Regions from separate parts of the Homo sapiens genome. Here region 2 is linked to region 1. Evidence: promoter capture Hi-C in human tissues and cell types (Jung and others, 2019). All regions are on one chromosome and are shown on one strand. Each heading gives the region's core, a stretch centred on a gene start or on the middle of the fragment in contact. The rest is flanking DNA. Distances are from core to core; before and after follow the strand shown. Region 1 holds the start of CSNK2A1 (casein kinase 2 alpha 1). Region 2 holds the start of DEFB129 (defensin beta 129).

Evidence for each region. The method cuts DNA at HindIII sites, captures the fragments that hold promoters and counts their contacts. A contact is called where the count stands out against the background at its distance.
Region 2: the fragment with the promoter of DEFB129 here is called in contact with the fragment with the promoter of CSNK2A1 in region 1 in 2 of the 25 tissues and cell types used here (IMR-90 fibroblasts and lymphoblastoid cells).

The regions. Positions count from the first base shown.
Region 1 is chr20:541,398-547,968 of GRCh38, reverse strand. CSNK2A1 (casein kinase 2 alpha 1) reads left to right here and starts at 4,179. Exons shown (of 14, transcript NM_177559.3): 1 at 4,179-4,297. RefSeq lists enhancers at 3,714-3,773, 3,884-3,933, 4,044-4,123, 4,144-4,293, 3,779-4,472 and 1 more and a silencer at 4,614-4,673. The HindIII fragment of the contact is 15,109 bases long and covers 1-6,564 here.
Region 2 is chr20:222,256-228,967 of GRCh38, reverse strand. DEFB129 (defensin beta 129) reads right to left here and starts at 1,710. Exons shown (of 2, transcript NM_080831.4): 1 at 1,622-1,710. The coding sequence starts at 1,679. The HindIII fragment of the contact is 8,784 bases long and covers 1-4,511 here.

The DNA of each region.
Region 1 (6,571 bases), core at 2,930-5,429:
TCCCATCTCTACTAAAAATACAAAAATTAGCTGGGCATGGTGGGCACCTGTAATCCCAGCTACTCGGGAGGTTGAGGCAGGAGAATCGCTTGAACCCAGAAGGCGGAGGTTGCAGTGAGCCAAGATGGCATCATTGGACTCCACCCTGGGCAACAAGAGTGAAACTCCATCTCAGAAAAAAAAAAGACACACATCTCCTAATTATTTAAATGTGCTTTTTAAATGTTTTCTGATCAAACTACTGTTTGTCTCTTGCTTTGTATCGTATAACAGAATGTCAGGGCCAGATTTCTATGTCAGGACATAATACTGTCTTCATTCTTTTCAATGGCTTTGTCACTTGCTGTGTGACATTGGACTAGTTGTTTAACCTCTCTGAGACTTGGTGTTCTTAATCTCTAAAATGGGGATTAAAAATGTACTGGCCACAGAGAGCTGTTGTGAGGATTAAATGAGTTAATAGATGTAAAGCATCTTGTACAGTGTCTGACACATATTAAGTGCTCAAAAATGTTAGTTCTCATTGCTGTGAATAGCCCCATGTCTGGCTGTACCATAATTTCTTTAACCAGTTCCATGCCTACGATTACTTATGTGATATAATGTTTGCAAAGGTGGCCACAACAATTCCACCCTCCTTATACACATGACTCCTTGCAGTATGATTTGATGTTTTTCTCATGAAGAGATGGAATCTATTTCTACTCTCCTTGAATCTGAGCTGGCCATATGACTGCCTTTGATCGATATAATACAGTGAAAATGATGCTATATCATTTCTAAGCCTAGATCTGAAGAGATCTTGCTGCTTTTGTTTTCTTTCTTCTGGGGGCCGTCATGTAAGTAAGCCTGAGTTAGCTTACTGAAGAAGCAACATGGAGGAGAACCAAGGCACTCAAGCCAACAACCCCAACCAACTGCCAGACATGTGAATGAGGCCATGGAGTTCTAACCAGTTTGCTGGCCTGTTCACTGACAGCAAACGTAAGAGTAAGCCAGGAAAGACCACTTGGAGCAGAAAAGAGCTGTCCTGGCTGAGACATGTCCAAACTGCCAATCCACACAAACATAAAATATTGTTGTTTTAAGCCACTATATTGTGGGGTGATTTTGTTAAGCAGCAATAGAAAGCAAATACACTTAGGTTCTTAGTGCATGATTAAAACTTTTGCCTGTAATTCTAGCACTTTGGGAGGCCAAGGCAGGGGAACTGCTTGAGCCTAGGAGTTCAAGACCAGCCCTGGCAACATAGCAAGACCCCATCTGTACAATAATAATAATAGTAATAATAATACTACTAAATTAAAAATGAGCCAGGCATGGTGGTGCATGTCTGTAGTCCTAGCTACTCAGGAGGCTAAGGTGGGAGGATCGCTTAAGCACAGGAGTTCAAGGTTATAATGAGCTGTGATCATGCCACTGCACTCCAGCCTGGACAACAGAGCAAGATCCTGTCTCAAAAGAGAGAGAGAGAGAGAGAGTCACTCTAATGGCCCAGGTTGAAATGCAAGCTCCATCTCCGGCATGTGACCTTGGGCATGGCCTGTGATCTCTGTGAACCTGAGTCTCCTCATCTGTACGGTGAGATACTTTTGGTTTCTACCTCATCAGGTTGACATGAGGATTAAGTGAGATGATGAACATTCAGTGTGTGGCACAGTGCAAGTACTCTCAACATCTTAACTCTTGCTTCTGCTGCTGTTGTTTGCAGAAAGACTAGCCTGAGAGGTGTGATGTGGGGGATCAGAGACAGTAAGAGTTAAGGATAAATGTTAAGTCTACAACTAGGTGAACACTTGGGATGGGAAGCCTCTTGAGACCGGAGACCTACATGAGGCTGGCGTAGTAGACGGCAGGAGTTGGGTTTCAATTATGTCCTGCATGAGTATGAGGGTTGTATATGTGTGCCCAGGTGAGCCCTCTGAATGAAGTCATGGATAGAGGCCAGAACTAGGAAGAAGAATGAAGAACTAATGCTGTGAGAGAGGCTGAGATTGGAAAGGCATGAAGGCTAAGCAATGGGAAATATCCTCACTACACTCAGATGAAAACCCAGCTTCCTTATCATGACCTGAATGCCCTGCCCACCTCTCCCACCATATTTCTTCCTCTTCTTCCCTTTATTTGCAGTGCTTCAGCCACCATGGCCTCCTTCTTCAAACTTGTGATGCTCTTTCCTGCCTTGGGACGTTTGCACTTACTGTTTCCTTCTCAAAGGGACCTTCTGAACCACTCAAGCTAAAGCTCTATACTTCACAGCTACTTATCTTTTCCTTTCGTAGCACTTATTGCTACCTGAAATTACTTTGTTTATGCATTTGTTTACCTGTGCATTACTTGCTTCTCACTTTAGAAGGTAAGCTCCACCAGTGAGCAACTGGTGTATGTCTTCCTCATAACACATCCCCAGTACCTAGCACAGTGTCTGGCTCATAGCAAATGATGAATTGTTGTGAGTTAAACAAATGTGAATACAGTTGGGAAAAACAAAGCCACAAGAGCCAAAAAGATACGTTCGAGAGGTAGGTAGAAGGGTATCATTTCCTGGAAGATGGCTTCCCAGAAACTTTGGGATTATCTTGTATAACCTCCTCAGTCCACAAGTGGGGAAATTGAGGCCCAGTTACAGGACACTGAGAGAAAAACTGTTGTGGGTTCCCAGGCAATTGGGATCAGATGTCACAAGCTGTCTAGCAGATGAGGTCCAGAGAAGGCCACAGCCACCTCCCTGAGGCCATCACTATAAGTCTGCAGCCACCACCAGCCCTAACCCCACATGGGGAAGAGGTGCCTCTTTGGGAGCAGAGGTGCTAGTCAGCTGACAAACTGTGAAGGCAGGGCTGTGGAGGGTGGAGAGGCCCATTCCTGAGACAACCAGCTATTCTGAGACAGTTAGGGATAATGGTTGGTACTGAAAGAACCTGGCCTCCTCACCCTCGTTCCAGTGCTCACACCTCTGTCCCACCAGAGGTGAGACTAATACTTGAACTCCTTTCAGCAACTCTTAGACGCTTCAGCTTTTATCAGGGCCTGCAAAGGAGAGGTTGATCATCAGATGGAGCCCTGTCCACTGGGGGCTCCCAGTCTGATGGAGGAGACAGACTGAGGTCCTCAGGTTACTGACTGATAGTGTCTGGGTTGGAGGGAGTTAAACAGAGAGGAGACCCCTAGAGGAAAGGATCCCTGAATTAGTTCAATCGGCATACAGAAATTATCCAGTCCATGAGGTGACAGTAAGAGAAGTAACTGCCAGTGTAAAGGGAGGGAGGCAACACAGCTAAGTTCCAGGAATTGTTTGCAGTCTTGTGGGTGGAATCTTCCGGAATTTGAGAAGAGAGTGGCAGAATAGGAGGCTGGAAAGGAGGGTTTGGCCAAATTATGGAGGACTCTGAATGTCAAGTGAAGAGTTTGGGCTATCTTTGGTGCATAAAGAGGTCCATGGGAGATTTTTGACCATAGGGAGACCATGATGAGCTCTGCATGGTAGAAAGTGCTTTGTGGCTGTTTTGGGGAGGTAGCTCGGGCAAGGAGAGCAGGGGTGGGAGGCAGATAGAAGGAAAAAAAAACACTGTATTTTGGACGCACAGCTCTTGGCAGGACTCCTGTAGGAGGAAGGAATTGGGCCTTGGTCTCTTGAGAGCTAGTATCCTCACTTCTCAGACTCCTGCGCCATGCCCTTCCTAGGGTCCAACTTTCATTCACTTCTTCCGAACTCCAAGTTTGAATAGAAAGTGTTGCTGAAACCCTAATTTAAAACGAGGGGTCAGAGCAAAAGAGACTTCAGCTCCCAGAATGCTTGGCTCTACAGCTCTGCAGGTCGCGCATGGTTCTTTTCAAGAAAGGGGGGCCAGCTGGGTGAAGTGTGGGAAACCTGGGTACCGCCATCTTAACTTGGGTCAAACCAACTGTTCACCTAATGGGAGGTTCGTGTTCTCTCTGTTGTCACTTGTTAACACTATTGAAATAAAATGCGCTTAACTATTGCAAGTCTCCTTATTCTGCTTTGCGTTGGGGATTCCTTCCATTTTGCACCCTAGGCCAGAACTGAATCCCTAAGGTTACAATAGGACATCCCAGCATGGCCGCATTCAGAGAGATTCCTCTGGGGGCGGAGTCGGAAGCTGTCTCGCCCCGCCTCCTGGTAGGAGGGGGTTTCCGCTTCCGGCAGCAGCGGCTGCAGCCTCGCTCTGGTCCCTGCGGCTGGCGGCCGAGCCGTGTGTCTCCTCCTCCATCGCCGCCATATTGTCTGTGTGAGCAGAGGGGAGAGCGGCCGCCGCCGCTGCCGCTTCCACCACAGGTACCTAGGGAGCAGCCAGGCGAGGTCGTTGGCGGGTGGGGTGGGCCCAGGATAGGGCAGCGGAGCGCGGCCGACCCTCACGCTTCCAGCAGACTCCTGAGCGGCCCGTCGCCTTCCCCTGCCCCCACCTTCACACATAAACCAAGCGAGGCCCCTGCAGCCCATCGGGGAGGCCCAGGGGCCACCCCTCAGGGCGGAGGGCGAGGTTTGGGGGCAGAGGCCGATGTGAGGGTGGGAACCGGCTGCCGGAGTCCAGCTTATTGCAGAGGAGAGGACTGAACTGGGTGGGGACTAGGGGACAACTTGGAGGAGGGGGTCGTCAGAGGGGGAAGGGAACTTGAGGGGTGGGGCCGCAGGGGGGTGCTGGGGGAGGGTGCGGAGGGAGTGGTGCCTGCTGGGTAGTGTGCAGTGAACCCTCCCGCGAAACTGGGCAGCTGGAGTAGGGGCCTTCTTAGGGTCCCTCTGGGCGGGGCTGAGCTTCCCACCTGCAGAGTGGGTGCGAGGTGGAGAGAACCCCAGGCGGGGTTGCTGGGGCGAAAGGGGGAAGGGACCAAGACGTGGGGCAGAACGTCTGGAGTTGGAGTTAAGGACTAGTTAGGAGCCTGGATAGAAAAAGAGGTATGGAGAGAAAGCTTGGCTAAGGGTATACATATGTTGGTGACCTTTTGAAAGAGTAGGACTTTTCAATTTTGTTTTTCGTTGTGTGTTTTTTGCAGTGTTGGAACATTGCTAGATTAAGCAGGTGATGGGTGGAGCTTCTGTAGTTTGTTTTGGGGAAGCAGAGTCAGGGTCAGGAGAAGTTGCATCTTGGCTATTGCTTTGTGTGGAGGAAAGAGTTTTGAAAAGAAGGTGGCAAATTATTTGGGAAGACTTGATTACTTTTCAGCTGTTTAATTCTACGAGAATGGGACATGGGGAGAGGAAATGAAAACTAAGAAGAGAGGCCGGGCGTGTGGCTCACGCCTGTAATCCCAGCACTCTGGGAGGCCGAGGCGGGTGGATCACGAGGTCAGGAGTTCGAGACCAGCCTGACCAACACGGTGAAACCCCGTCTGTACTAAAAATGCAAATATCAGCCGGGCTTGGTGGCGCGCGCCTGTAATCCCAGCTACTCGGGAGGCTAAGGCAGGAGAATCGCTTGAACCTGGGAGGCGGAGGTGGCAGTGAGCTGAGATCCGCCACTGCACTCCAGCCTGGGCGACAGAGCGAGACTCCGCCTCAAAAAGAAAAAAGAAAACTAAGAAGGGAAGATTTTTCCAAGAATTGGAGACTTCATTCCATCTGAGGAGTGCAGTGTAGGCCCAGTGGTTAAAAACCAGACTGCCTAGGTTCTCAAATATCAGGGCCATTGCTACTTAGCTGTGTGACCTAAACTCTCTAAGCCTCAGTTTTCCCGTCTGTAAAAGGGGGATGATGGTATTTTCTAGCTTGTGAGTTTACGGAGAAGAGTAAATAAGACAATTTGTGTCAAGTGCTTACTACAGTGTCTGGCAGGTAGTAAGTGTAGTAAGTAGCTTTTACCTGTCACTGTAAAGGGACTAGCTGGTATATTTGGGGCTCTTCTGTTCTAAGTAAAATTTATAGTCAAGAATTTGACTGTAGACAGGGCTTTAGAGTAGTATCTTTGTAGTTGTTGTAGGGTTTTGTTGTAAGTCATTTGGCTTTACTGGCTTGGTGGACCTGGGGCTGAAAGTCCAGTACCAATACTAGTTCTCCTCCGTGGTATTCTCAAAAGTTCACCTGCAGTCTTAGCAGGGCATGTTTTTGTCCTTCTGTGACTTTGAAATACTTGGCTTTGGTTTGCTATTGCGGGAGGGTGTATGACTTGAAGAAAGAATGCAAGATTGGAAATTTGCTTAGATTGATTAATCAACTGATTATACAGTTAGGTCCCCGTGAGGTGACTTTTCTTTAAAAATAAAAAAAAGCCTAGTTATGTACTCCTTTGTGGAATACAGAGAAGAGAAATACACATTTAAGGAGGAGCATGGGTTAGTTTCTAAGTAGTTATGGGTGAAGTGCCTTGCAATTTGAGGATGAAACAGGTGGCAACTCCTTTTCCATACTGCGCGTCCTTTTCCTACTCACTCATCCAGAGTGAGTCCTTGTTTTTACTATTGTCTCTATCTCTGAACATACATCTTTGTGTCACATAAGTAAAGACATATGTATGTATGTATATATACTTTACTTCACATAAGTAAAATATATACATCTTTACTTCACACTCTGTTAAAGAAAGGGATGATTTTCTTTAGGAAGTGAGTTTAAACC
Region 2 (6,712 bases), core at 461-2,960, 320 kb after region 1:
TTGTCAGACATCACTATCCCATCTCCATAATCTTGGGAAATACCAATGAGAGCCAAGTCCATCATAAAACTAATTTAAGAAAGAAGTTCAAAAGAGAATCAATAGAATTTTCAGGAGTCTTATCTTTTCACCAAACTCAGTAGCCCATGACTTCTCTCTTCTCAACAATCACTAGATCTGTGATTCCTGAAGCATGGTGTTCTATCTCTTCTAGCCTCTTTGGACACTCTATCTCTCAGAAGTCTCATTCATTATCCTAGCCTTAACCTCATATCCACCAAGGTAACTTCTGTATTGTTATCTATAATTCTAAATTTCCTGCTCGGCTTAGTACCTTATCTTTATCTGCTGAATGACTTTTCCATCCTAATGTCTCGTGTTTCTTTTTTCTGAATCAAGAAAGCTTTTCTCCCTTGTTCATCTTAATAACCCAATGATTTTCCCTAAATTACAAGAGATTTATGTAGCATCTGCTAATTTTCAAAGCATATTTGCATACATTTCCACATTGTTTTCTCATCAAACGGGAAACAGAAAAATTCTTATATTGGAATCAGCTGCATTGATTAACCCCATTATACTCATGTGAAATTGAAGTTCAAAGTGGTTAAGTGACTTTACCCAAGATGACACAGCCATACTTGCTTATGGTACTACCCTTTTCCTAGGGTCCCAAGATAAAAACATTAGAAGATAAAAACATTAGAAGCATCTTTGACACTTCCACTTTCCCTGCCCCGAAACCCTTTGCTAATTTTTTCAAATAGCTGGATGATTCTTGTATTCTGAAACAAATCTCAGTGCTTCTCCTTTCTTTTCCAAAAACAATGGTTAATCCCCTGGCTTAGCCTTTTGCTATAATGCATTCCTAGATGCCCTTATGGTAGTTTGGGGGTTTTCAGGAAGACAAAGTCTGAGAGAAGCGATAAAGGCTCTGGAAAACCTGAAAGAATTCAAGATGGAGAACACAGGCCTGTTTACTTGATCTTGAAAGGGTTTTTTTTTGAGCATGAGGGAAGAACTTCCTCCTTTCTACACCAAGCACAAACTGATAGGAAACTTTGCTTCAAGAGGTGGTTTCACAGGAAGGGGAACAACACACACTGGGGCCTGTTGGGTGGAGGGAGAGCATCAGGAAAAATAGCTAATGCATCCTGGGCTTAATACCTGGGCGATGGGTTGGTAGGTGCAGCAAATAACCATGACACACATTTACCTATGTAACAAACCGCACATCCTGCACAAGTACCCCAGGACTTTTTTTAAAAAAAAAGGGCTTTTAAGATAGAAATAGAGCTAAAAGGAGGTAGACCTGGGCTTAGTCTTAGCATGATAGACATATACAGGGCAGGAAGGCAGCATTATATTTTGGATAGTTTCTGAATAGACAAAAAATACCCTGCTTTCTCTGTAGCTTCCTGGGTGTTTCCACTGGACACAATCTGGCAGTTGGGGCCTATGAGAATGTATCAGTGCATGACTGATACAATAGGTAAGCTCTTTAGCCATCTTTTTGAACAGCTAATCTTTCAGTCTCCTCTCTTTGGGTTTCCATTGTCATGGGCAGCCAAATCCTTGGTTCCTCTCATCTACCCATCTTAAACTTGGGAATCCACATTACCTGTGTTCACCTGGTACTGTAGCATGAGGCTGGCAAAGATAGGAAAAAGGAGCTTCATGGTTGGGTGCCAGAGAGGAAGCCTTGAATCTGGGTTGATGCTCCTGAGCTCCAGCCTTTATTGGCCTCTTCGTGGCCTTATGCCATGAGCAGTGAAGTGCAGCCAAAGCAGGTTTGTATGCTGCTCGCAGTATAGTTGTGTTTTTTCTGACTCTGTTTGAAAACACCCTTTCTTGAACACCTCTATGCAACAAATTCCTTGCTCTTGATCCTGGAGGAAAACATAAGATAGGTAAGATGAGAAAGAAAGAGCAAGCCCTTTGCATGTGTCTCTCTTTTGCTTTTTTGAGATGGAGTCTCACTCTGTTGCCCAGGCTGGAGTGCAGTGGCGTGATCTCGACTCACTGCAACCTCCGCCTCCCAGGTTCAGGCAATCCTCCTGCCTCAGCCTCCCAAGTAGAGTATCTGGGACTACAGGCATGCACCACCATGCCCAGCTAACTTTTGTATTTTCAGTAGAGACGGGGTTTCACCATGTTGGCCAGGCTGGTCTCAAACTCCTGACCTCAAGTGATCCGCCCACCTTGGCCTCCCAAAGTGCTGGGGTTCCAGGCATGAGCCACCGCACCCAGTCGCATGTCTCTTTCTTAACGTTGGAGTAGGATAAGAGTTAGATATTTGATTCACTGATTGTCAGCCCAGTTATGCTAAGGTTGGCACTTAGTGCATGAGAATTAGAAGAGCTAGAGGAGAGTGAAGATTCTGCCTTGTTTGTACTGGTATGTCCAGTGGCCAGCATGGGTATTGGATCAACATACAAAGTCAGTACGTTTGTTAAACAAGTTCGTGGGAGACAGCTCTTGGCACATCTTTAACTTTTGAGTTTACAATGATTCCCACATCCTTTTAAAGTAGCAACTAAAAAAAAACTTTTTTAACTTCGCGGGTATATGTGCAGGATGTGCTGGTTTGTTACATAGGTAATGTGTGTCATGGGGGTTGGTTGTATAGATTATTTCATCACCCAGCTATTAAGCCTAGTGTCCATTAGTTATTTTTCCTCATCCTCTCCCTCCTCCCACCTTCCACTCTCCAGTAAGCTCCAGTGTGTGTTGTTCCCCTCTGTGTGTCCATGTGTTCTCATCATTTTGCTCCCACCTATAAGTGAGAACATGCAGTATTTGGTTTTCTGTTTCTGCCTTCATTTGCTAAGGATAATGGCCTCCAGCTCCATCCATGTCCCTGCAAAGGACACGATCTCATTCTTTTTTATGGCTGCATAGTATTCCGTGGTATATATGTACCACATTTTCTTTATCCATTCTTTATCCAAATGGCCAAATGATGGGCATTTGGGTTGATTCTATGTCTTTGTTATTGTGAATAGCGCTGCAGTGAACATATGCATGCATGTGTCTTTATAATAGAACCATTTATATTCCTTTGGGCATATACCCAGTAATAGGATTGCTAGGTCAAATGGTATTTCTGACTTTAGGTTTTTGAGGGATTGCCACACTATCTTCCACAATGGTTGAAATAATTAAAAGCAGCAATTTTTATAGTGTACTGCTCAGATTCCTTGGTCGTAGCTGATTGATCCAGGTGTAACAATAGAACCAAGCCTACCAATCAGATGCTTTCCCCTGCTAATTTGGGACATTTCCTAAGAAACTCAGATATTGAAGCTCATTGGCTCTGAATATTATTAATTGTTCAAGTTTCAAGAGTTTCCCTGGTTCCTCGCCTTCCTGAAATTCATGTCTTCTTAGGATTTCATTAGCTACTATAGTATCCAATGACTCCTCAGTTTTGTTTAAATTAACTGTTATTTTTTAAAACAATAAAAGCAAATCTTATGAACTTTCACTTTATGAAATGTATATTTTACTTCTATGAACAAAAATAATCAAGCTTAGGCATATTTACTTACTACTTGTCAATATCAAGAGATGGAATTAACAGCCCTTTGGAATCAGTTAATCCTGAATATCGCATATTAATTGGTTTCTGGTGTTTTAAGATGCATTGAAATAACATTATTCACCTCATTGTGTCTTGCTAGTCCCAAAGCAATAAGAATATGGAAAGTACTGGTACAAAGAGAAGCACAGTTATTATGGAACAAAAAGTTGAGTTAATAAGAATTGGAAAGTTATGAAAAATTAAGTATGTTGCATGTATATATGGAATGAATCTATCAACAGTGTAGCATAATTTTGTAAAAAGACAAATTATTCACATGTGCAAAGTGTTGCATTTATGTGTATCAGTTGGGAAATGAAAAACACTAGCTATTTTCAACAGAAATATTTTTAATACTCAGAATTATGTGCTTATAAACTCTCTACAGAAGCTGACTGTGGGCTTGGTCTCCCAGAATGACTTCCAGAACATTCCAACAAACTGGCCCAGCAGAGAATCTGCTAGTTCTTTCATAGTCAGGAAAGTAGGGTGACAGGATCCCATGATTAGACATGCTGGACTTCAAGAACACACCACGGTAGCTGTAATATAAGAGCAAGGATATTTTTCTGCTGCTTCTACAACTGTCTGTTGAAACCCATAGAGCTAGGGATCAGACATTGGAATGTAGCAGAAAAACTCAACTGAGTTTAAAGATTTAAGATTTAATTTCCCTAACAATTTAGAACTGTCAAATTTTCAATTTCTTCTTGGGTCACATCAAGTAATGTTTATTTCTTCTAAATTTCATTTTTGGCATAAGGTCACTCACAATATGTCCTTTGATCTCTTTACTATCTATAGAGTTTGTAGTGATGGCTACGTGTTTTATTCTTCATATGGGTAATGTGTTTTCAATTTTTTCTTTGTTATTCCTATAGTGAATTAATTAATTGGTCTTTTCAAAATCAGCTTTTGGTTTTGTTGATTCTATGTTTGATTTTTATTTAATTATATTTTATTTTAAATATTATGAAAATTAAAAAATATTTAATTATTTTCTCCTCTCAGCTTTATCTTCCTTTCTTTGAACTTCTTTGAATAAAATTTCATTTTATTCTGTTATTGTTTTCTAACTTATTATTTGTGTTGTTATCTCATACATTTTCAGCTTTTCTTCAGTATAACCAAGTGGGTAAGACTCTAATTTTCCCTTTATATGCAGCTTTAGCTGGACTTCATAAGTTTTTATTTGCAGTGTTTTGTTATCATAATCATTCACTTAAAAATAAACACTTCAATTTCCACTGTGTCATCTTTTCTGACATATGAATTAGTTTGAACCTTGCTATTCACAGTGTGGTGGAAAGACCAGAAGCATCAACACTTCCGGAGAGCTTGTCAGAAATGCAGGATTTCAATTCATCTCAGAATGAGTCAATCAAAATCTGCGTATTAGGAAGATCCTCAGGTGATTTGTATGTACTTTAATATCTGAGAAACATTGGTTGAGAAATGTGTTTCTTATCTGAGCATGTGGGGACATTTTAGTTATGAGGGAACTTCAAACAGTTTGTGGAAGATGACATTAAAATATAAAAATATAAAGATATAAACTTTATTTCTCAACATAAGCTCCATCAAGTTCAAGACACTTTTGTAAGCAATGGTACCAGCCACTTAGTCTATCCCTGAAGGACTGAGCTTCCTGGGAATTTAACCACATCAGTGTTCTTTTACATTATTAACTGAAGAAAAATTGGTGTCCTTTAAAGATTTTTTTTTAAGATTAGGAGATAAAAAGAAGTCAAAAGGAGCCATGTCAGGATGGCAATGTGGATGCCTAATGACTTTCCATCAAAACGCTTGAAAAATTGCCCTTGTTTGACTAGGGGAATGAGCAGGAGCATTGTCATGTTGGAGAAGGACTCTCTGGTGAAGTTTTCCTGGGTATTTTTCAGCTAAAGCTTTGGCTAACTTTCTCAAAACACTCTCATAATAAGCAGATGTTATTGTTCTTTGGCCCTCCAGAAAGTCAACAAGCAAAATGCCTTGTGCACCCCCAAAAATTGTTGACATGACTTTTGTTCTTAACTGGTCAGCTTTTGCTTGGACTGGATCACTTCCATCTCTTTGCTTTGATTTTGCTTTGTCTTCAGGGTCATACTGGTAAAGCCAGATTCCAACTTTTGTTACAGTGCTTTGAATAAATGCTTCAGGATCTTGATCCCACTTGTTTAAAGTTTCATTGAAAGCTGTGCTCTTGTTTGTAGCTGATTTTGGCACAATGGTTTTGGCGCCCATCAAGTGGAAAGTTTGTTCTTCTTTAATTTTTTAGTCAGATTTCCATTAACTGAACCAACTGAGAAGTCTATGATGTTGACAATTGTTTTTACTGTTAATTATCAGTCCTTTTCAACTGGGGCATGAACAAGATTAATTTTTTCCTCCCAAACTGATGTGGGTGGTCTGCTGCTGGTGGCTTCATCTTCAATATTATCTCATCCCTTATTAAAATGAGTTATCCATTTGCAAACTGCTGACTTCCTTGGGGCATCGTCCCATAGACTTTTTGTAAAGCATCAATGATTTCATCATTCTTCTACCCAAGCTTCACTGTACATTTGATGTTTGTTCTTGCTTCAATTTTAGCAGAATTCATGTTGCTCTGATAGGGGCTCTTTTCAGACTGATGTCTTATCTTTTTTAGTGTCTGAAACTAGATCTTGTTCAAACATTTTATAACCAGTTAGTATTAGTTTATTTTGGTGCAAAACATTTTGAAATTCTTACATGATTTTTTTCATAATATACATTTTCTTGAACTTTTTGTTATTGATTTCTAAATAATTTCTATATTGGGGAAGGGAATGACATATGGCATAATTTTTGATACTGAGACTGCTTTATTGATCATTTTTTCTACTTTTTTGATATACACATTTATTGCTATAAAATTCCCTCTTAGTACTGCTTTTGCTGTATCCCATAGGTTTTGGAATGTTGTATTTCCATTTTCATTTGTTTCAAGAAATTTTAAAATTTCTGTCTTAATTTCTTCAATGACCCAACGGTCATTCAGGATTATGTTTTTTAATTTCCATGTGTTTGTATAGTGTTCAAAGTTCCTCTTGTTATTGATTTCTACTTTTATTCCACTGTGGTCATAAAAGATACTTGATATGGTTT